3 separate regions of the Homo sapiens genome follow, and all the other regions are linked to region 2. Evidence: promoter capture Hi-C in 16 types of primary human blood cells and fetal thymus (Javierre and others, 2016). All regions are on one chromosome and are shown on one strand. The core of a region is centred on a gene start or on the middle of the fragment in contact, and the rest is flanking DNA. Distances in the headings are between cores, read along the strand shown. Region 1 overlaps SLC25A17 (solute carrier family 25 member 17). Region 2 holds the start of ZC3H7B (zinc finger CCCH-type containing 7B). Region 3 holds the start of LOC124905157 (small nucleolar RNA U13).

What was found. The method cuts DNA at HindIII sites, captures the fragments that hold promoters and counts their contacts. A CHiCAGO score of 5 or more calls a contact.
Region 1: a fragment that was not itself captured here is called in contact with the fragment with the promoter of ZC3H7B in region 2 in 1 of 17 cell types (total CD8 T cells); the score reaches 5.3 in total CD8 T cells.
Region 3: a fragment that was not itself captured here is called in contact with the fragment with the promoter of ZC3H7B in region 2 in 2 of 17 cell types (endothelial precursors and total CD4 T cells); the score reaches 5.6 in endothelial precursors.

Annotation. Positions count from the first base shown.
Region 1 is chr22:40,814,136-40,816,835 of GRCh38, reverse strand. The region is part of intron 1 of SLC25A17 (solute carrier family 25 member 17); the gene reads left to right. Among named protein-coding and RNA genes, the nearest start is that of MIR4766, 1.5 kb to the right of the region's middle. The HindIII fragment of the contact is 625 bases long and covers 1,075-1,699 here.
Region 2 is chr22:41,300,159-41,302,858 of GRCh38, reverse strand. ZC3H7B (zinc finger CCCH-type containing 7B) reads right to left here and starts at 1,334. Exons shown (of 23, transcript NM_017590.6): 1 at 1,087-1,334. It also overlaps a transcript of RANGAP1 not described here. RefSeq lists silencers at 958-1,027, 1,308-1,647 and an enhancer at 725-1,226. The HindIII fragment of the contact is 7,155 bases long and covers 1-2,700 here.
Region 3 is chr22:40,914,640-40,917,339 of GRCh38, reverse strand. All of the region lies in intron 7 of XPNPEP3 (X-prolyl aminopeptidase 3), which reads right to left. It overlaps LOC124905157 (small nucleolar RNA U13), which reads right to left and starts at 2,461; the gene lies at 2,358-2,461. The HindIII fragment of the contact is 2,530 bases long and covers 15-2,544 here.

The sequences.
Region 1 (2,700 bases), core at 138-2,637, 490 kb after region 2:
AGTTCGAGGCCAGCCTGGCTAACATGGTGAAACCCCGTCTCTACTAAAAATACAAAAAGTAGCCAGGCATGGTGGTGGGCGCCTGTAATCCCAGCTACTCGGGAGGCTGAAGCAGGAGAATCACTTGAACCTGGGAGGCAGAGGTTGCAGTGAGCCAAAATTGTGCCATTGCACTCCAGCCTGGGTGACAAGAGCAAGACTCCGTCTCAAGAAAAAAAAAAAAAAACAATAAAAAATAAATGAATAAATAAAAAATAAGTAGAATAATTTTAGATACAGTTAAGTGCTATAAAAGAACATAGAGATTGGCAAACTTTTTAAAGAGAGCAGATGGGAAATATTTTAGGCTTTGTGTACCGTTGTCACAGCTACCCAACATTGCCATGGTCGTGTGAAATCAGCTGTAGACAGTAAATGAATGGACAGAGCTGTGTTCCAATAAAATACTGTTTTCAAAAACAGATATTAGATTGGATTTGGCCCATAGGCCATAGTTTTCTGACTCCTGCTATAGAGAGAGTGACTGGCAATAGTGGTAATATATTTCTATTTAATCTACAAAGATACTTCTTTTTTTCACTTGTTGCCTATTTTTCTCTTTTTTTCTTTTTCTTTCTTTCTTTCTTTTTTTTTTTTTGAGATGGAGTTTCGCTCTTGTTGCCCAGGCTGGAGTGCATGGAGTGCAGTGATGCAATCTCGGCCCACCACAACCTCCGCCTCCTGGGTTCAAGCGATTCTCCTGCCTCAGCCTCTCGCCGAGTGGCTGGGTTTACAGGCATGTGCCACCACGCCTGGCTAATTTTGTATTTTCAGTAGAGACGGGGTTTCTCCATGTTGGTCAGCCTGGTCTTGAGCTCCCGCCCTCAGGTGATCCGCCTGCCTTGGCCTCCCAAAGTGCTGGGATTACAGGCGTGAGCCACTGCGCCTGGCCTGGAATTACTTTTCTAACTTTGTTTATGCCTGAATCAAAAACGATTAATGAAATTATATCGTCATACATAGTATTGTATAACTTAATTTTTTAAGAAGCAAATATGGCATAATAGCTGAAAAAAAAGGTTCTGTAGTAAAGCTTAACTATGAATGCCATCATCAATCGAACTATAAAACAGGGACAATAACAATGCCTCACTTAACTGGGTTCTTGTGGGAAGTAAATGTGATTATATTTGTGGAGCATCTAGCATAATGGAACGTTGTAGTAAGACCATAATTATTCATTTCTGTCTCAAGTATATTCTTGCAAATACAGCACTTATACCTAGTTTTAGAAATTTAAGGGAATTGAAATGTTCTCTTGCCTCATGGCCATCTCCACCCATTCCCTTCACTTGTTGCAGATGATCTTACCTTTTACTCTCTAGATAAAATAGAACCTACTTGGGATGAGTTTTTTCAGTTTTTTCCAATTACAGTTGTACTCGTGTTTTCTACATTCTGCTGGTCTCAGAGGAAAAATAGACATATTCAGTGTCTGCTACCTTCAATCTTTGTCCTCCCCTCCAGCCCATGGCCAGTTTTCTTCCAGGACTTTGCTCCAGTAATTTTCATCTCTTTCCTATAGCTTTAACCTAGTATCTGCTTCTGTTCAGCCCTCAAACATGGTCAGGTCTGTCCCATCAGAAAACTATACCAATCTGATCTGGAATCTGGTAGCTTCTTCAGCCTCTGCCTGTTCTCTTTCCCTTTGTGCTAAGCTTATTTAAAGAATATTCTGGGCCGGGTGTGGTGGCTCACACCTGTAATCCCAGCACTTTGGGAGGCTGAGGCGGGCAGATCACGAGGTCAGGAGATCGAGACCATCCTGACTAACACGGTGAAACCCCATCTCTACTAAAAATACAAAATATTAGCCGGGCATGGAGGCAGGCGCCTGTAGTCCCAGCTACTCGGGAGGCTGAGGCAGGAGAACGGCATGAACCCGGGAGGTGGAGCTTGCAGTGAGCCAAGATTGCGCCACTGCACTCCAGCCTGGACGACAGAGCAAGACTCCGTCTCAAAAACAAAAAAAACCAAAACAAAACAAAACAACAACAACAACAACAATATATATATATATATATATATATATATATATATATTCTGCACGTACTGCCTTTCCTCATCCTACTTTGACCACTGGAACTGTTCTTCCAAAGGTCAACTCTGACTTCCTAACAGCTTAATCTACTATTGTGAATGGTTTAAGGTCATGGATAACCAGGTACACACACATTTGTGTCTTTTCACAATGTCAGACTTTTATTGTGTTATTTCAGTTATAAAAGACAAGTTACATGGAGTTCTCAAGGAGGCAATTTTTATTAGTACTTCTCATTCACTAGGTAGTCAGTCAATATTGTAAATCATATATAATAGTATACCTAATTAATACATAAATGATGTAGATTAAACATTCTGCAACAAAGTAACATTGAACATCAAGAGAAAAGGGTGAGGAAAAAGGGTTACCTAACCAGTCCGGGGAGAGTGATATAGACAAGTATCCTGGTTTCATCATGGCAGTGTGTTGGTCTTGTAAGAAAGAATCCTTGATGTGGGCAGAGCCTTTGGACACAGATATCAGGCTTTTATAACAAGTGACAGCAAGACAGTGTCTGTTAAGACCATTTTGAGTTTTTTAAGTCCTGTTCTTTTTATGGTCACAGAGTCTTCTGGTAAGGACTGATAGTGGAAGAGCATGCTTGGTTGTGTCTTTAT
Region 2 (2,700 bases), core at 85-2,584:
CAGCCCCCTTTTAGAGCCCCCAGACTCCCCACGCAGGGCCCTAGCCCCCTAGTCTTCCCCGTCAATGCCCTGTTGGCAATACAGCCATCAGGTTCTATCAGAGTGAGCTGTTTTTATATGATTATTTTCCCCCCTGGGAAGACGGCTTTGTCTGTGAAAGTCCCCCCAACCAGGCGCCTTATAAACGCCTAAAACAGACAGAGTTGAGGAGAAAGGAGGGGAAAGGAGGAGGGAGCAAACCCGGAGGGGGGCCCTGAGGTTCGCAGCGGGCAGGATGGGGGTATGAGGCCGGAGTCGGCGGCTCCCAGGCCCCCAGCCCCGTCAGGGCGCCCCCGTCCCCAGGCGCCAGAGCCGGGGTCCGCAGCCCCCTAGCACTCCCTGGACGGCCGCGGGCCTCCCACAGGCCTCGAAGTCCAGAGACTGATCCTGCGACCGGAAACGCCCCCCTGCCCAGCAGGCCCAGACCGCGCCCCCCTTTCCTGCCGCCCCCTTCCCGCGGGCCCGGCTGCAGGCCCCGGATCCCCGGGCTCGCGTGGCCGCCGCAGCCGAAAGGGGCGGCCCGTCGGGCGGCCCCGCTCCCCGGCCCTCGCCGCGGCCCCTCCAACTCCGGGTGCTGCGGGGCCAAGGACAACACAAAAGGAAGGGGGGCCCTGCCAGCGACGCCCCTGCCAGCCCCCGAGACCCCCTGCGCGGGGTCGGCAAAGCATCTGGACACCCCAGAAGCTCCGGACGCCGAAGAGAGAGGCCCCACGAAAATTTCAAGACACCTCCTGGGGGCTGCAGGGGCGGCCAAGTCTCCCCAGCGCCAGGTGCCCCCGGCCACACGGTAACTTTTAAACTTTGGGGCAGGGCACGGGGACCGGGATCCCCAAAAAGGAGCAAATGGGGTTTTAGAGACGATTTATTTTTTGCAAAATCCCACTTTCCAGGTGGCCCGGCGCGCGGCCCCGGCCTGGAAAGGGCTCTCTTCGCCTCTTCCCCAGCCCTGCCCGGCCCGGGCGTCCCCGAACCCTCGCGCGCGGGCGGCTCCGGACGCAGTGTCCCCGGCCTCTGCCCCGCGGGGCTCGGGCCGCGCCAAGCACTCACCTCCGCCGGGCTGCGCTCCCCGCGGGCCTGCGCCGAGCCCGATAAATGGTATGCTATGACTAGAGGTATGATTACGTTATTATTATTAGTAATAATAAGAGTAAATGCTATTTAATTACGGGCGGCCGCATCCTGCTCCCGGCGCCGCCGCCCCGGCAGCTCCGTCCATGTGGCTCTGGAGCGCTTTACTTTCATTTCCAGCCCCTCGGCTGGCCGCTCGCGGCAGCACCCGCTGGAGGCACTGTCTCCCTGCAGCTCTTCCTCCTCGGGTCCTAGAGAGCTCGGCTCCCGTCGCCTCGCCGCGCCCGGGGTGGGCGGCGCGGGCTGCGCACCTGGGGAGAAGGGCGGGGGGCGTGGGGGCGAGTCGGGGAAGCCCCATTCCCCGTCGAAAGCTCATGCCTGGAATTCACCTTTATTTTCTTTAAAAGTGTCCTGCCTTTTAGGGGGGTTTCTTTTGGCAGTTCTGCATTTCTGGGCTGATGCTGCTCAAACCCAGCGCCTCCGCCCTTCCCCATCTGTGTCAAAAGTCCCCCCGCCCCCCTTCTCCGGCTTCCAGGTGCTTTCATGGAAGGCTGCCCAAAACCCTGGTTGCGTTGTGCCCTTCTCATAGATGGGAACCGGAGACACATAGAAGAATCAGGACCTCACTTGGCTGGAGTTTTATGTATAGGATGTTAAAAAAAATATTGAATGACACTTGTTAAAGACTACAAGGCCGACTTTATTGGCATCATGATGGGTGTAGGGACCACTGCAGTGGGTTTTGCGGTCAGGGAGAGTATTTGGGCTCAATTCAGAAATCAGCATGGGCAACTGGGAATTTATGAGGAAGGAGAAAGGATCCACTGATTGAGCGCCAGTGCATAGGAAACTGCATCAGAGATGAGAGGATTCTCGCTTAAACCCATCTAACAAGATTCTTGCTGAAGGCAGGGCAAGGTGATCAGACATCACCTGGGGAATGGTGGAAAATGAGGAACCTGATTAGATATTGACAATCAGGGCTGGGTGCAGTGGCTCACGCCTGTAATCTCAGCACTTTGGGAGGCCAAGACGGGTGGATCACCTGAGGTCAGGAGTTCAAGACCAGACTAGCCAACGTGGTGAAACCCCATCTCTACAAAAATACAAAAATTAGCCAGGCGTGGTGGTGGGTGCCTGTAATCCCAGCTACTCAGGAGGCTGAGGCAGGAGAATCACTTGAACCCCAGAGGTGGAGGTTGCAGTGAGCCAAGATCATGCCATTGCACTCCAGCCTGGGCAACAAGAGCAAAACTGTCTCCAGAAATATATGTGTGTGTGTGTGTGTGTGTGTGTGTGTGTGTGTGTGTGTGTGTGTGTGTGAGTTCCCAATACCCCCTAGGCAATTTACAATGAAACACCCTTGACAACTTATCACATTTACCACCATGGTTATTATCACTCTCATTTCATCGATGAGGATGCTGAGGCCAGTTGGATTGCTGCATTTTGCCTCAAGTGAACTAGATGGCAAATGGTCTGGTGATTCCACCACCCCAGGTTGCTGGTGAAATAATGAACACATATTCTTGAAGAGGACTGTCCATCATTCAAGGGGGATTCAGCAGGACACCAGCCTCTTATCTCTTCAAG
Region 3 (2,700 bases), core at 30-2,529, 390 kb after region 2:
GCTATTCACAAGCTTGTTCCCATTACTGATCAGTATGAGAGTTGTGACCTGCTCTGTTTCTGACCTGGGCCAGTTCAGCCCTCCTTAGGTAATGTGCAAAAACCTCTAACTGGTTGCAGACACCTGATCAACATAGTGGACTGCAGCTTAGAACTCTTGGACTCAAGTGATCCTCCTGCCTCAGCCTCCTGAGTAGCTGAGACTATAGGTGCATGCCACTATGCTTGGTCATTGTGGGGTTTTTTTCTTTTTCTTTTTTTTTGCGACAGGGTCTGGCTCTGTCACCCAGGCTGGATTGCAATGGTGCAATCTTGGCTCACTGCAACCTCTGTCTCCTGGGCTCAAGCAATTCTCCCACCTCAGCCTCTTGAGTAGCTGGGACTACAGGCATGTGCCACCACGCCTGGCTAATTTTTTTGTAAAGACCAGGTTTCACTATGCTGCCCATGTTGGTCTTGAACTCCTGAGCTCAAGTGATCCTCCTGTCTTTCCTCCCAGTGTGCTGGGATTACATGAGGCACCTCGCCTGGCTGTCCTTTGTGTTTTAAAGATATTTTTATCACCCAAATATTCACCCCAAGATAATTTTCTTTGTGTTCATTTGTAATATATTTGATATAACTAAAATCTCTTTTAGTTAGTAGGCTCCTCCTCCACCTCTTTTCATTTCCTTGTAATTTATTTGTTAAAGAATCCAGGCTGCTTGACATACAGAGTTTATCAGTCTAGATTTTGGGCAGTTACAGACTGAATGTTTGTGAATTAGGAGGTAATTATTTTGAGGTAACAAATACTACCTAGTGTTTGGTTTTGTTAGCTAGTTGCTCTATGTTTATTTGACAATTTGGAAAGTTTGAAAAACTATCCTGCTGCTGCCATCTTCCCACAATCTCTGGTTCTTTTTTGTTTCTATTTCTCATTGAGATTCTCCATCTGTTTGCTCATTATGTCTACATCTTCCTTTAACTTATCTATAACAGCTACTTTAGAGTCTTTCTGCTAATTGGAACATTAGGATCATTTCTTTCTTTTTTTTTTTCCTTTGTTTGAGATGGAGTCTCACTCTGTCGCCCAAGCTGGAGTGCAGTGGTACAATCTCGGCTCACTGCAACCTCCCCTTTCCCGGTTCAAGCGATATTCCTGCCTCAGCCTCCCGAGTAGCTGGGATTACAGGTGCCCGCCACCACACTCAGCTAATTTTTGTATTTTTAGTAGAGACAGGGTTTCACATTTTGGCCAGGCTGGTCTTGAACTCCTGACTTCAAGTAATCTGCCCACCTCGGCCCCCCAAAGTGCTAGAATTACAGGCATGAGCCACTGCACCTGGCCAGGATTATTTCATTATCAGATTTTCTTGATTACAGGTCACAATTACCAGTTTCTTCTCATGTCTAGAAATTTTGTTAACTTGGATAGCTTCAAACTACAAACTCTGTTCTCACTGGGAAGCAACTAAAATCTCTGCTCAGTTTATTCTGCTTCTAGCTGCTCGTATTTTGCTGAGCCTCATGAGGCCTCCTCAGAACACATAGTTCAGTAATCAGCCAAGGATTTTTAAATATTCTGTATGCAGATTTTGGGGCTCAGAGTTTCCACAAGCCCTTCTCGTCAAGGATTTTCCTTCATCTTTCTGGCTATTCTGTCAGCACCTAAATCTATCATTTGATATCTTAAATCAATAAGGCTGTGGCTTTCTGCCGCCCAAGCTATGTGCATTGGGCAATGTCCTCAGGCAAAAAGCCCTTATCACCATTTTTATCCATTATAGTTTTTCTTTTTTTTTTTTTTCAGATAGAGTCTCACTCTGTCACCCAGGCTGGAGTGCAGAGTCCAATCTTAGCTCACTGCAACTTCCGTCCCCTGGGTTCAAGCGATTCTCCTGCCTTAGCCTCCCGAGTACCATTCCCAGGCTAATTTTTGTATTTTTAGTAGAGACAGGGTTTCACCATTTTGGTCAGGCTGGTCCTGAACTCCTGACCTCAGGTGCTCTGCCTGCCTTGGGCTCCCAAAGTCCTGGGATTACAGGTATGAGCCACCAGGCCTGGCCCATTATAGTTTTTTAAGAATGGACTTGTACTTGGCTAACACGGTGAAATCCCATCTCTACGAAAAATACAAAAAATTAGCCAGGCGTGGTGGTGGGTGCCTGTAGTCCCGCTACTCGGGAGGCTGAAGCAGGAGAATGATGTGAACCTGGGAGGTGGAGCTAGCAGTGAGCCGAGATCATGCCACTGCACTCCAGCCTGGGTGCCAGAGCGAGACTCCGTCTCAAAAAAAAAAAAAAAAAAAGAATGGACTTGTACAATTTCTGCCTATTTTTGAAAGCTCTCTGGTGCCTTTTATTTTGATTTTTTTCATGTCAGATGGGTAATGTGCTGACCTTGTAAGAAGGTTTGAGGGTAGCACATCTCATACCTGCACGTGAACACCCAATCATCACACTCATGAGCTACAAAGGGATCTCTAGTGCCTTTAAATAGTTATTTTTAATATTTTGTCCAGATTTTATAATTATTATCTATGGAGGATTAATCCAATCAAGCTTTCTACCATAACCTGAATATTACTTCTGTATTTTAAAAAATCAACTTTATTTTTTAAAAAATGTCTGTGAGTCAGGCATGGTGGCAATGTGCCTATAGTCCCAGCTACTTAAGAGGTCTGAGAAGAGAGGATCACTTCAGGACAGAGTTCGAGGCT